4 separate regions of the Homo sapiens genome follow, and regions 2, 3 and 4 are each linked to region 1. The links are contacts of gene promoters, found by promoter capture Hi-C in blood cells and fetal thymus (Javierre and others, 2016). All regions are on one chromosome and are shown on one strand. The core of a region is centred on a gene start or on the middle of the fragment in contact, and the rest is flanking DNA. Distances in the headings are between cores, read along the strand shown. Region 1 holds the start of PMCH (pro-melanin concentrating hormone). Region 2 has its middle 100 kb from the start of LINC00485. Region 3 has its middle 83 kb from the start of LINC00485. Region 4 holds the start of ARL1 (ARF like GTPase 1).

The links. The method cuts DNA at HindIII sites, captures the fragments that hold promoters and counts their contacts. A CHiCAGO score of 5 or more calls a contact.
Region 2: a fragment that was not itself captured here is called in contact with the fragment with the promoter of PMCH in region 1 in 1 of 17 cell types (M1 macrophages); the score reaches 5.2 in M1 macrophages.
Region 3: a fragment that was not itself captured here is called in contact with the fragment with the promoter of PMCH in region 1 in 1 of 17 cell types (M0 macrophages); the score reaches 5.9 in M0 macrophages.
Region 4: the fragment with the promoter of ARL1 here is called in contact with the fragment with the promoter of PMCH in region 1 in 3 of 17 cell types (neutrophils, monocytes and total B cells); the score reaches 8.6 in neutrophils.

What each region holds. Positions count from the first base shown.
Region 1 is chr12:102,196,463-102,199,301 of GRCh38, reverse strand. It overlaps PMCH (pro-melanin concentrating hormone), which reads left to right and starts at 1,469. Exons shown (of 3, transcript NM_002674.4): 1 at 1,469-1,780; 2 at 2,131-2,329; 3 at 2,601-2,839. The coding sequence starts at 1,532. The coding sequence ends at 2,650. PARPBP (PARP1 binding protein) reads right to left here. Exons shown (of 11, transcript NM_017915.5): 11 at 1,782-2,839. The HindIII fragment of the contact is 15,261 bases long and covers 1-2,839 here.
Region 2 is chr12:102,720,192-102,723,146 of GRCh38, reverse strand. No RefSeq gene overlaps it. Among named protein-coding and RNA genes, the nearest start is that of LINC00485, 100 kb to the left of the region's middle. RefSeq lists an enhancer at 458-1,095. The HindIII fragment of the contact is 682 bases long and covers 1,334-2,015 here.
Region 3 is chr12:102,739,651-102,742,599 of GRCh38, reverse strand. No RefSeq gene overlaps it. Among named protein-coding and RNA genes, the nearest start is that of LINC00485, 83 kb to the left of the region's middle. The HindIII fragment of the contact is 2,753 bases long and covers 1-2,695 here.
Region 4 is chr12:101,406,287-101,409,281 of GRCh38, reverse strand. It overlaps ARL1 (ARF like GTPase 1), which reads left to right and starts at 1,510. Exons shown (of 6, transcript NM_001177.6): 1 at 1,510-1,640. The coding sequence starts at 1,637. RefSeq lists enhancers at 1,848-1,897, 1,978-2,027. The HindIII fragment of the contact is 1,758 bases long and covers 299-2,056 here.

The sequences.
Region 1 (2,839 bases), core at 220-2,719:
ACAGGATGACTTCTTCAAGAAATATATAAGGACATTGGAAAAAGTAAAATTACATCTCTATCTTATATCATACACAAAATTACAGATGAATTACAAACCTAAACATGAAAGTCAAAATATTTAAACTTTTAGAAGAAAATATATGAAAACACGTTAATAATCTAAGGATTGAGAAGGATTTCTAAAAAAAAACAACACATTAAAAGTAGTTGCCATAAAGAAAAAAGAAAAATATTTAAACATTAAAATTAATCAGTTTGGTTCACCAAAAGACACCAGAGGGGTTGAAAATATGTCACAAACTGAGCGAAAATAATTGAAACATATATAACTAACAATTAATATCCAGAATATATAAAGAACTCCCATAAATAAATTAGAAAAAGACAACCCAATAGAAAAATGGACAAAGCCAAAAAAGAAAAAAAAAAAAAGCATTTAACATAAGAGGAAACATAAATGGCTCAGAAACATATGGGAAGACACTTAACCTCTTTGGTAATTAGGAAAATACAAATTAAAAGGACAATGAGACACAAGAGTCAGCTAGGACATGGAACAATGGAAATTCTCATACCCTGCTTATCGAGGGCACAAATCGCTTACAACTATGTTGGAAAACATTTTGGCATTAGTAAAGCTGAACATATACATACTCCATGATCCAGTAATTCCATACTGAGAAATATACTCTAGAAAAATTCTTACATATATGTACCAGAAGACATATAAAAGAATGTATTATCTTATTCATTGGGGTCAAAATTAGAAATTAACTCTGAAATGTTTAATTAAAAGTCATACAACATAAACTCATCATCCAAAAGTAATGTTTATGGGCACATAAATATTCTTTTCATGGACTAATTCATTAATTTCTAAATTCATTAATAAATATTTGTACATATTATCCTTTTGTAAATGCAGAGATAAAATACACCTGACAGGTCAATTTTTGATATAGCATGAATGGCTTTTTGTTCACACTGACAGGCATATGTACTTTAATCACCAAAAACTATATCAAGTATTTATAAAAGAAAGTCTCTTTTGAGGATTATTTCAGTTTAATCAGGATTAAAAGGAAATAAAACTTTATCCTTATCATCCTTGAGTGAAATAACTTGAGTTTTAATATCTTTACTTAATCAGAAAATACACAAAAGGAAACAATAATATAGAGAGAGCCTGATGTCCTGTGGTCTTCCTTAATAACAACCCATTTTCAAGAGACTATAATCTACTCAACAGAAAGCATTCTACCAAGGATCTTAGTCAGATTCTGAGAAAATTCACACTCAAAATAAACAATGTGTCACTAAAACCAAAACAATGTAGGTATTAGCAGCTGCATAAAGGTTAGCCTCAATCTAATGAGTCATTTCTAAAATGATGAAAAGTATAATTCTTTGAAGTGCTTTCTATTCAAGCTAGAAAATATATAAAGATACAGAATCGTTTACCAAGCAGGCTGACAGAGAAATTTTTCATTTTCTTTCTTGTTTGACTGTATGCAAACATCAAACTAAGAATGGCAAAAATGAATCTCTCTTCCTATATATTAATACTAACTTTTTCTTTGTTTTCTCAAGGTATTTTACTTTCAGCATCCAAGTCCATAAGAAATTTAGATGATGACATGGTATTTAATACATTCAGGTTGGGGAAAGGCTTTCAGAAGGAAGACACTGCAGAAAAATCAGTTATTGCTCCTTCCCTGGAACAATATAAAAATGATGAGAGCAGTTTCATGAACGAAGAGGAAAATAAAGTTTCAAAGGTAAGTGGCAATGTGACTTGTCGTTTATTTCAATGAAAATTTAAATGATTCTTACAAATCCTCTGAAAAGTAAAACTGATACTTTTATAAACAGAAGTATATGCAAACAGTCACAATATGCATTAGGACGACTGACGATATTTCTTACATGCCAGGTAGTTCTTCCATCCCAGCAAACACCTCTTATCTGAAAGTGTTTTTTCTCCTATAAATTTGCATCTAAGGTATTTTTAAAAAGTCAAAAACAGTGCAGAGTAACTTTGAATTGATCAACAAGAATATTATACAATTGTATTATAGTTCCACTCCGAATACGATAGCTAAAAACCAAATCAACCTTCTCTTTACAGAACACAGGCTCCAAACATAATTTCTTAAATCATGGTCTGCCACTGAATCTGGCTATAAAACCTTATCTTGCACTAAAAGGATCTGTAGCTTTCCCAGCTGAGAATGGAGTTCAGAATACTGAATCAACACAAGAAAAGAGAGAAATTGGGGATGAAGAAAACTCAGCTAAATTTCCTATAGGAAGGAGAGATTTTGACAGTGAGTAGTCTTTTCAAAATTCAATTCTTACATCCTACCACCATTAAACAGAACTCTGAGTTAAAGTGAATTTGGATGCAATCATAACAAAATCAAATAAGACCATGGCTCAATTACACCTGCCAAAAATGTGGGATTAAATAGCAACAATTAATTATTATCATTTTGGTTTACTCAGAATTAGTTATACTAGATCCATTCTTTTTTTCTTAATAAATTTTGTGTGATAATTATAGTCCTTTAAACAATTTAAACTTTCTTCTTCCTTCAGTGCTCAGATGTATGCTGGGAAGAGTCTACCGACCTTGTTGGCAAGTCTGATACCTGTTGGTCCACATCATCTTTTCAGAAGAAAATAAAAGCATTTAATTGCCAATGGGAGGAGAAGCCCATACTGCTACTATAACTTGTGTATGTTAAATGTCTGTTTTAAAAGAAAGTAGTGTTAAGATGTATCAGTAACTGAAATGATATGCTTTCTCTGTGCATTAAACTTTGTGAAAATTCTGC
Region 2 (2,955 bases), core at 425-2,924, 520 kb before region 1:
AGAGACTACATCATGTTTTTATCTTTTGTTTTCTAAAGAAGGATAGCCATGGATAGTTGTGTGGGTTGTGCATGGTAGTCTTGCCCTGAAACACCTAGCAGACTGCCTAACAAATGAGAAGTACTTGATCAATCATTTTTAATAAATGAATGAATGACTGTGAATTGAGGATATTGGCATTACATTGGTAATTACAATTACCAACGTAATGAACTCAGACCTTAAGACACTGAAAAGCCTGAAGTCAGAACTTAAGGACTAAAAAAAGGGAGACAAGGCTAAAGGGAGCTTAACTCTTTTATCACATGAACTAAGATCTAGGCTCCATTTTAGGTCTGATGAGACTCCTCCATCACGCACGCACGCACGCACGCACACACACACACACACACACACACACACACACGACAGAGTTTCTTCCTAGCCCTGTAGATCCTTCCTTCCAGGATCACTGTGTGTGGTCATCATGGTTGTGCAGGGTCCCCAGCAGGCCTGTGCTTACCTCACTGCACCCACTCCCCACCTTCAGCCCTTGCCAGGACCCATTTAGTAAGAGTCGATCTTACCGCTGAGTCCCTGTCGCCCATACCAGGAAAACTGCTACTAGAAACAATATCCAACGCCAACTCCACTCTTTTCATGGGAACCTACCTGGCTCTGGGAAGAAAGAGTTAGAACATATTATCATAACAATAACCCTGAGAGCCCCCATTGTCAAGAGATCAGATTCTGAATAGGTGGACTGTTCTGGACCTGGATGGCTGCCTTCAAACACAGCTTGCTTATTCAACAGAACTTTGTCCCTGAATAGGTATCACACTCAGAAGAAGGGGAAAACCTAGCAAGATAACAGCCCAGAGCTCTCCAAATGAAACCAGGCCCCTGACCACTTTCCTTACCACTTATGTAGCCAACTGAGATGAGTAAACAAACCAAGGAGTCCTGACAGGTTATCCAGATGGCCTGAGCAGTTAGTGCCACATCTCACCGTTCTCTTATGGACCTCAGTGCCAGAATTTGGAACACATCCATCTGTGCAGACAAGTTACACAGAACTCAGGACAAAAGGTGATATTGCTTAGAATCTCAGATTGCAGGTGTTACAGCTAACAAACTTGGGCTTGAATTCTGATCTACAGCTCACAGGGAAAGTTCACTTTCCCTCATTCGCATTCCACCGTTTGGGGATGTGAATTATGGGATGGGAGGGAAAGAGCCAAATTTTCCTTTGTGCCCTCAGGACAGTATGTAGTTATGAGTACTGATCCTGGATCCAGACAGGCCCAACCTCCACCACCAGGCCTGCCACTGCACTACTTAACATCTCTAAGCTTCAGTTTTCTCATCCGCAAAATGGGACTGCTTATAATAGAACTGAATTCAAAGGTTTCTTGTGAGGGTTACATGAGATAATATTGGTAAAGTGTTTGGTCTAGAGTAAGTCCTCAATAAATAATAGTTACTTTTAAAGGAGAAAATGACATGCAATTCAATAAACATTTTTTTCTAAGTGCTACTATATTAGAACTTAGACTGATTTTCTCTTTTACCAGTTTCGACTAGCTATTATTCTTTTAAAAGGTAAATAGTCCCTGTCATTTCTAAAATTCCTTTATAGCTCATGTGGTTTGAATACCTACCCTAGGCCTGGTCATGTAACACATTTAATACATGAAATCTCTTTTAGCCCTTACTGTGGTTATATATATGCAAAGCAGGTGATACTATTCCTGCTTTATAGCTGAGGAAACTGAGACTCAGGAGAGTTAACTGCTTTGCCAAATGTATTAAGTAGATATATTTGAATCCAAGGGTCCTGACTCTGAAATTTCCTCAGAGCCTAAAACTAATTCATGCGCAATAGCCAAATGAGAACCAAAATATTGACTTTATCCATGACCCAATAAAGTAGAAATTGTCTACATTGAGGAACACAAAATGAGACTCTTCTCTCTCTAGATCCAGACCTGGAGACTCCTGTAGCAAGGGATGGGTCTCCAGTTAGCCACTAAGCTTACATGTCCAGCCAGTCACAAGTCCACCTCACCTCCTACCTGACCCCAGAGGAGAGCAGCTAAAAGAGGATGGTGACATTTCCCAGGTGTCAGTGTTTCCACATGGAGATAGGAAACAAGGGTTAGAGGCAACGCGAGTAAGAAATAGAGGAGACTACACCCATTAGTAAGAAGAAATGGCCTAGGTTCTCATCATCCTGATTTGCCACTCCTACCCAAGGGATGAGGGGCTGTCGGAGTGAGCACGGGCAGAGAACAGCTGAACAGTTCAGCTGAGATGCACCATTTTAATGGAAACATGTCAGGTGAGGAAGGGGAGGTAAAGGGCCTTTTGTAATCATTCCAATTCCAAAGCTCACTTCACACCATCACATCTGTCCATATAGGAATGTACACTGCTCAATAGATAACAGAACTTTTTTATTTCAACTTATAAAACTGTCAGCACAGTTGTCAAAGAAAATAATGCCACCTCTTGGTCAATCCACCTAGTGGGAATGCCACCAGACCCTTGACAAAACCTCTAAAGAGAAGGAGGGCGGAGAATGAATTAGAAATACATATAATAGTGTTTTTATCCCCCTGGAATCAGTTGGGAGCTCTATTGTCTTAAAAATTTGGAAGCCGGATTTCTTACTACAAATTATGAGCCTTTCAGGATGGTGGTTGAAAGTTTGGATTTTGCTGTTAGAGAAATCTGGGTTTGAATTTTGACTTAGTTGTGCAGAATCGTTCTTTTTGGCTGGCTAATATTTGAAATTCCTTCCAATGTTTGGAAAATACCCTTCCTTGTATGAGTCTTCATAGGAGGTATGGCTCACCTCCCACTTTGGAAAGCAAATATCATTTCTCCAACCTCCTTTACAGCTGAACTTTAAGCATGAGGTCTAGAATCTACCAAATAAATGAAGCCAGGTAAATTTCTAAATTAGGAGCTACT
Region 3 (2,949 bases), core at 70-2,569, 540 kb before region 1:
AAGATAAAATGAAAAAAAAAAAAATAATAACCCATAATATACTCCTGAAGAGGAGGGTCAAGAACCTTGAAATACAAAGGCAAGCGGAATTGCTCTGGAATCCCTGGTCCAGTCACTCACTTGTAGTCAGTTACATTTCTATTTCTCACCTGTCCTCCTCAGACCCAGTACTGGGAACAAATGCCTGTCTAAGTGTTGTATTGTCTCTGTTACTGTTGCTGTCATCATTGTCATCATCTTGTTGTAGCTTTAGGGCTTTTCTATTTGCAAAACTCAGTGCTTCAGCATGAATAGTTAAATGGGGTGAACATACTTCTTTTGAAATTGGCTCTCTGTTATGTAAGCAATGTTGTAATAGAAACATATATATTTAGATTAATGAGCTAATGAAAGATGGTGGTATCGTAATTGTCAAAATATATCTATGGGAGGTAGAGAAGATACAGATTACTCCTTTTTTTAACAGGAAGGAAAACTGTGTAAGACCAGTTATATTTTTTGCTCATAACAAAAATGACCAGTGTGTGGCCCTCTTAAATGATGCTTTGCCACTAGTACCAAATTGGGGGTGGGAGAGAGTCATCATTTTCCTACAAGTAAGAAAAACACCGAGAACACACACACACACACAAGTATATGGACACACACAGAAAAACACACAAACACACAAACACACATACTTGCACATGTTTCTAACTTAGATATGACGGCTTAAAGGAAGAATTGAGGGAATACAACAGACCCTTAGCTTGTAGTAGAAACTTTTAACACTGGAAAGTTCTAACTTTAGAAGGTCTTCTGAGCTCCAGTGGGCAAGAAGCTATTTGGCATACTGTAAATAGACTAGAACCACAACATCAAGGGTAGGAGACTGATAGTTACAGATTCTTCCTTAGAGATTCTCTAGTTACCAACTGTCATAATATCTATTAGCAAACAACAGCAATAAAAAAAAGCATCCTTAGAAATTTGGAATAGAAATCTCCTGTTTTCCTGTCTTTTACGTGGTCCCCTTTTCAAGTACTTTCTTATATTCTAGAAGAAGAGATTCAACAAGCAATTGGATATTATACAAGTGATTCACGCATTAGAAATGTAATTGAATTTAATGAACTTGATGGTCCTTGCCTACCCTAAGATGCTGTGATCCTATAACTTTCATGTCATACAGCTGTGATGACACCATCTCCTTCTGCATCCTATGATGTCATTGTTTGGTACCATAGCAAGTGAGATATGCACCTGTATGTTCATGTGCAAACCATCCAGGAGAAGAGTAACTAATTTTTGTATCAGTTAAAGAACAACTGGTTAATAAATTAATTTCTCTTGGGATCATAACGTTCAACTCCTCGGGATATTATAAAAATCTAACCCTGTCAACACCAACCAAAAACCTATGTGTTCAGTATAAGATGACCAGAATCAACACTTGCATTTTGCATTTAGAAAAGTGAAAACTGAAGAGGCAAGAATCAAAGGCGAAGGTTACATGAGGATCCAGGTCTCTGGTATTTGGGTTCCAAAATTTTCTTGGTAAGCTCGCTTTTCTTCATGTTGAACTGTACCCAATTTATTAACAAAGATAATTCAGTGCCAAAGTTCTAAATTGCATGGAATGGTCACCATGAGTGCATGTGGGAACCCAGGACAAAATAAATGTTCACTGTAATACAAAAGAGATGGTAAGTTGTCTTGAGTATATTTCAGTGTTATTGATATTTTGTCCACAAGATGGTAGCGTACACTTTCCAGTTAATGTAAAGCTGGCCTGTGATCCTAATTTCCCGTAAACTAGAGAATGGTTGGTGTTGAACGAAGGCCAGCCACTCTGGATATCACTCAGTATTTTTTTTTTATTGTGATGAATTGTTGATTTTAAGTATATTTAGTACTGCTATAGCAAGGTGGGGATTCAACTGAAATAAAGAACACTCAGAAATGCATTGCATTCCAGCTTCTTAAAGGGAATTTGAGAAGTGGGAATACTTTGGACATCTAAAAACCACACACCAAGGATCAGATACTGACATTTTTAAAAAAAAAATCCACTTTAGTACATTGTGCAAAAGACATTCAGGATGTCAAGTTCAATTAATCTTTGGTGAAATTTTGCACTGTAACAAAGTTCCTTCCATGAAATGAGTTCAAGAGGACTATAGATGTTTTCCCCTCAAATCCAGAGGGAAAGTAAGACCTTAGATGTTATGACATTTCCATGAGCTAAATAAGAGGGCAGTATTAGCAAGCTAGCCTGCTCTTCTGTTGTGTGCCTCTCTCCCTCAGCTAGCCCCATGTCAGAGGGGACAAGACACAGATGGCAAAAACATCTGGCCTGTCTGCCTCTATTGACCAGAGGGCCTTCTTTGAGGTTCTCAGGCTTACTTTATCTTTTTTTGAACTCTTTTTAAAATGAGAAGCTCAAGTGGGATTTCCTTTCATCTTACTATATTATTTTCAAATTAAATTAGGTCTAATGCCCTGTATCAGAATTACAAAAGCAGGGCTCCAGGGCATATAAGTGACTTCCTATTTTGTTTTTCAGAACAGCTGAGCTCCCCACCTGGGAAGGAGAGAGACAGATGAGCCACGAGCAGAAGGTGGGGTAGAATAAGAGCTGAGGGCAGGAGGGGAGGCCCTGCAGCCTCAACTCTAGGGTTTGCCCTTCCAATGGGCTTCAGCATCAAATCAAGCTTCCTCAGACCTCCAGAGTCCAGCCCTATCACAGCTATCTATTTTATTCCCCTTGTTCTGCAACATGCATCCTCTGATCTAACCTTAGAGAGGTCACTTTGCTGCTATCTATTTGGTTCTCACTGCCTTTATTGTTAGGCTTTGCCTTTCACATTGGTTTTTGGTTCCAGTAACTCCAACCTCAATCAGAAATTCCATGGCTCCAGCTTACTTATGAGAATTTATTTCTCAAACTTTCTCAAGAAGCAATGCAAA
Region 4 (2,995 bases), core at 261-2,760, 790 kb after region 1:
CACTATGTTGCCTAGGCTGGACTCCAACTCCTGGGCTCAAGGGATCTGCCCGCCTCGGCCTCCCAAAGAGCTGGGATTACAGGCCTGAGCCACGACACCTGGCCGACCTTAAATATTCTTAGCACAAAATAAACATATACACACAAGCACACACGACTATGTGAGGTGATGGGTATGTTATCATTTCACAACATATACAACTATGAAAACATCACATGGTACACTGTAAATATATACAATTTTTATTTAAAGCTAGAAAAATTCTTTTAAAATAAACTAAAAAGGCAGTCCATAAGCTTCTGTTGAATGGATGAAAATCTCTACCATAAATAAAAACATAATATGCAAAGGTATTAATAAGATTTGGAAGAAAACCTAAGAGAGTATTAACAGTAGTGACTACTGGGGATCACCGAGATACAGGGTATTAGGGATGGAAGGTTTACTTTTCTCTTTTTTTTTTTGAGACGGAGTGTCGCTCTGTCGCCCAGGCTGGAGTGCAGTGGCACGATCTCGACTCACTGCAACTTCTGCCTCCTGAGTTCAAGTGATTCTCCTGCCTCAGCCTCCTGAGTAGCTGGGACTACAGGCGCCCGCCACCACGCCTGGTGAATTTTCTGTATTTTTAGTAGAGACGGGGTTTCACCGTGTTAGCCACGATGGTCTCGATCTCCTGACCTCGTGATCCGCCCGCCTCGGCCTCCCAAAGTGCTGGGATTACAGGCGTGAGCCACCGCGCCCGGCCGGAAGGTTCACTTTTCAATGGATCTTTGGGAAGTTTCAAAACATACATGCTCAACCTTTAAAAATTTCTCTAGGGGAAATCCCTTCTCCACATCCTATAGGTGTGCTTCCTTCTTCCTCTCCACACACTTCACTATCAAAACCTACATTACTTCCAACAGTCGACCCTCGAGGGAATAAGTCCCTGGTCCCCACGATCGGGACCAGCCAGTCCACACTGCCGACCCCTGAAAGGCGGTCTCAGCTGCTCGGTCAGCGAGAAAAAAAGCCGGCGAGGTCCTCGTCCTGCAGGCCACAGCGAAGACAAAAACCTCTGGTTACTGGCCTCAGGTGCAAGGCTGCTCCGCATTGGCAGCGCGGTACCATTCCTATTATTATTACGTAGTCTTGTTTCTTTCTGGGAGAAAGCACCTAGGGAGAGTTGGGCTGGCCCCGCAGGGCGCTCCGGGACACGCGTCCTCTGCAACGCCGCAGCCTGCGCCAGCGTTCGACCGGGACGACTCATCGAGGCCCGACTCGCATTTTCAGTTGTCAGATTCGCCACTTTTTGGTGTCAGAATTTAAAACAAAAATTCCAATTTCTCTATTTCAGAAGCTCTTTCTGTCCAGAAAAACACAAGCAGGAGAGACTTCAGGTTTTTGAATTATTCGTCTCTTCTGGCCTCCACGGTATCTACATCCAGTGAGCGGGGACCGTGAGTCGAAAGCGACGACGCGGATGCTCAGGCCACCGTTCCCGGCGCGCAGTCGCAGCTGACCCTCGCTCCCGCCCCCGCCTGGAGTCCGACGTGGAAGTTGCTGGCTGACTGGGCTTGCGAGGAAACCGCCTCGGAGCTGCAGCCGAAGGCCAAGGAATCACTGAAGATCGGCGAGGGAGGACAGGGGGTTCATCATGGGTGAGGGGTTCGAGAAGGGCACCTGGGCGCGCTCGAGGGAGCCGCGGCCGAGGGCTGGGGTGCAGAGGAGGAGAGGGGCCGGCCAGGATACCCTAGAGTAGCCAGCTCCTCAGGGGGCGGGTCGCGGAGGACTTGACTCACTTTGGATCTTCATCTGTAGGGGTGGATCCGGCCTCTCGCGTTCTCCTCCGTCCTCTCTCGGTTCCCCTTGATTCCTGCGGGGTCCAGGGACCCGGACAGCTTGGGGACGTCCGCAGAGCCTGGGTTCGAGTTCTTTACCCTTATCATGAAGTTTTCCCTCATCCCCAGCTCCACTTGCTGGGCAGAGTTGTTCTTGCGGAGGCTGGCAACGCGTCAGTCGCAGGTTCGCCGAGGTTTCTTGGTGAAAGATGAGCTGCGGCCCCAGAGTGGAAGCTTAATCATTCTCTTTACCAGGGGCGCTGGGACGGCGTCAGTTTGAAAAACCTGAGAGCAGGTGTTGCTTATGTTGTTTTATGGCCAGTTTGGCATTTGTCTGCTAATCTGCTGTAGCGTTTCATGTAATAATACGGGTATTTCTAGTCGGCAAATGAAACTTTATTCTTGGTTCTTGGCCCGCTGATTGAGGGAACTGCATTCTCACAAGCATCAGGTAACACCCTCGCCCCGCTAGAACCCAAGTGAGGGTGCACATTCTTTAACTCGTTTCTCACCCTCCAAATGAAGGTGCAGATTCTTTGGCTTGGTTAAATCCCTCCACAGTTTTCTGGGGAGCATACTTCTTGCTCCCAAGCATCACAGGCGCTGTCCTGTCTTCCATAACCGCCTTCAGTTTTGTTCCGCCTCTCTTCTACCTGTAAATGGTAGAAAGGACTTTGTCAAGTCACACCTATTCTGTTGAACTTTCCCAAGGTTCTCTAGCCCATGGTGTTGTTCATTTTTCAACTCGCAGCTCTTAGTTATGCCATGTCTTTGCCAAATAACAGTGTGGCATCACTTCTGATGTTAACTATTTTTTTTTGTATTAATGTAACTTGTTTTTAATCTTCTCTAATGGCTCTGGATGGGAAAAGGACTGTGCTTTTTATCCTACACAATACTTGGTGTACAGGAAGCTTTCTGGGAATATTTTGTGATGCATTGGATAGAGCTTTATTATTTTTAAAAGTGGGTTTTTTGTCAAAAATAGTTATTGTTTTCAGCTTTTTTCTCAATTTCTTGTACTAGCTATATTGCTTCGTGGAGAACTCTGATTGAAGTTGGTTATAGTGGTACTGCTGCTGTACAGTACTTTTCCTGTGCGAGGATTACATTGTCCCACTATCCTCCTTACTGGCCCCTTGGTTTTTAGGGGTAGTGAGGGGATCATGCTAAAA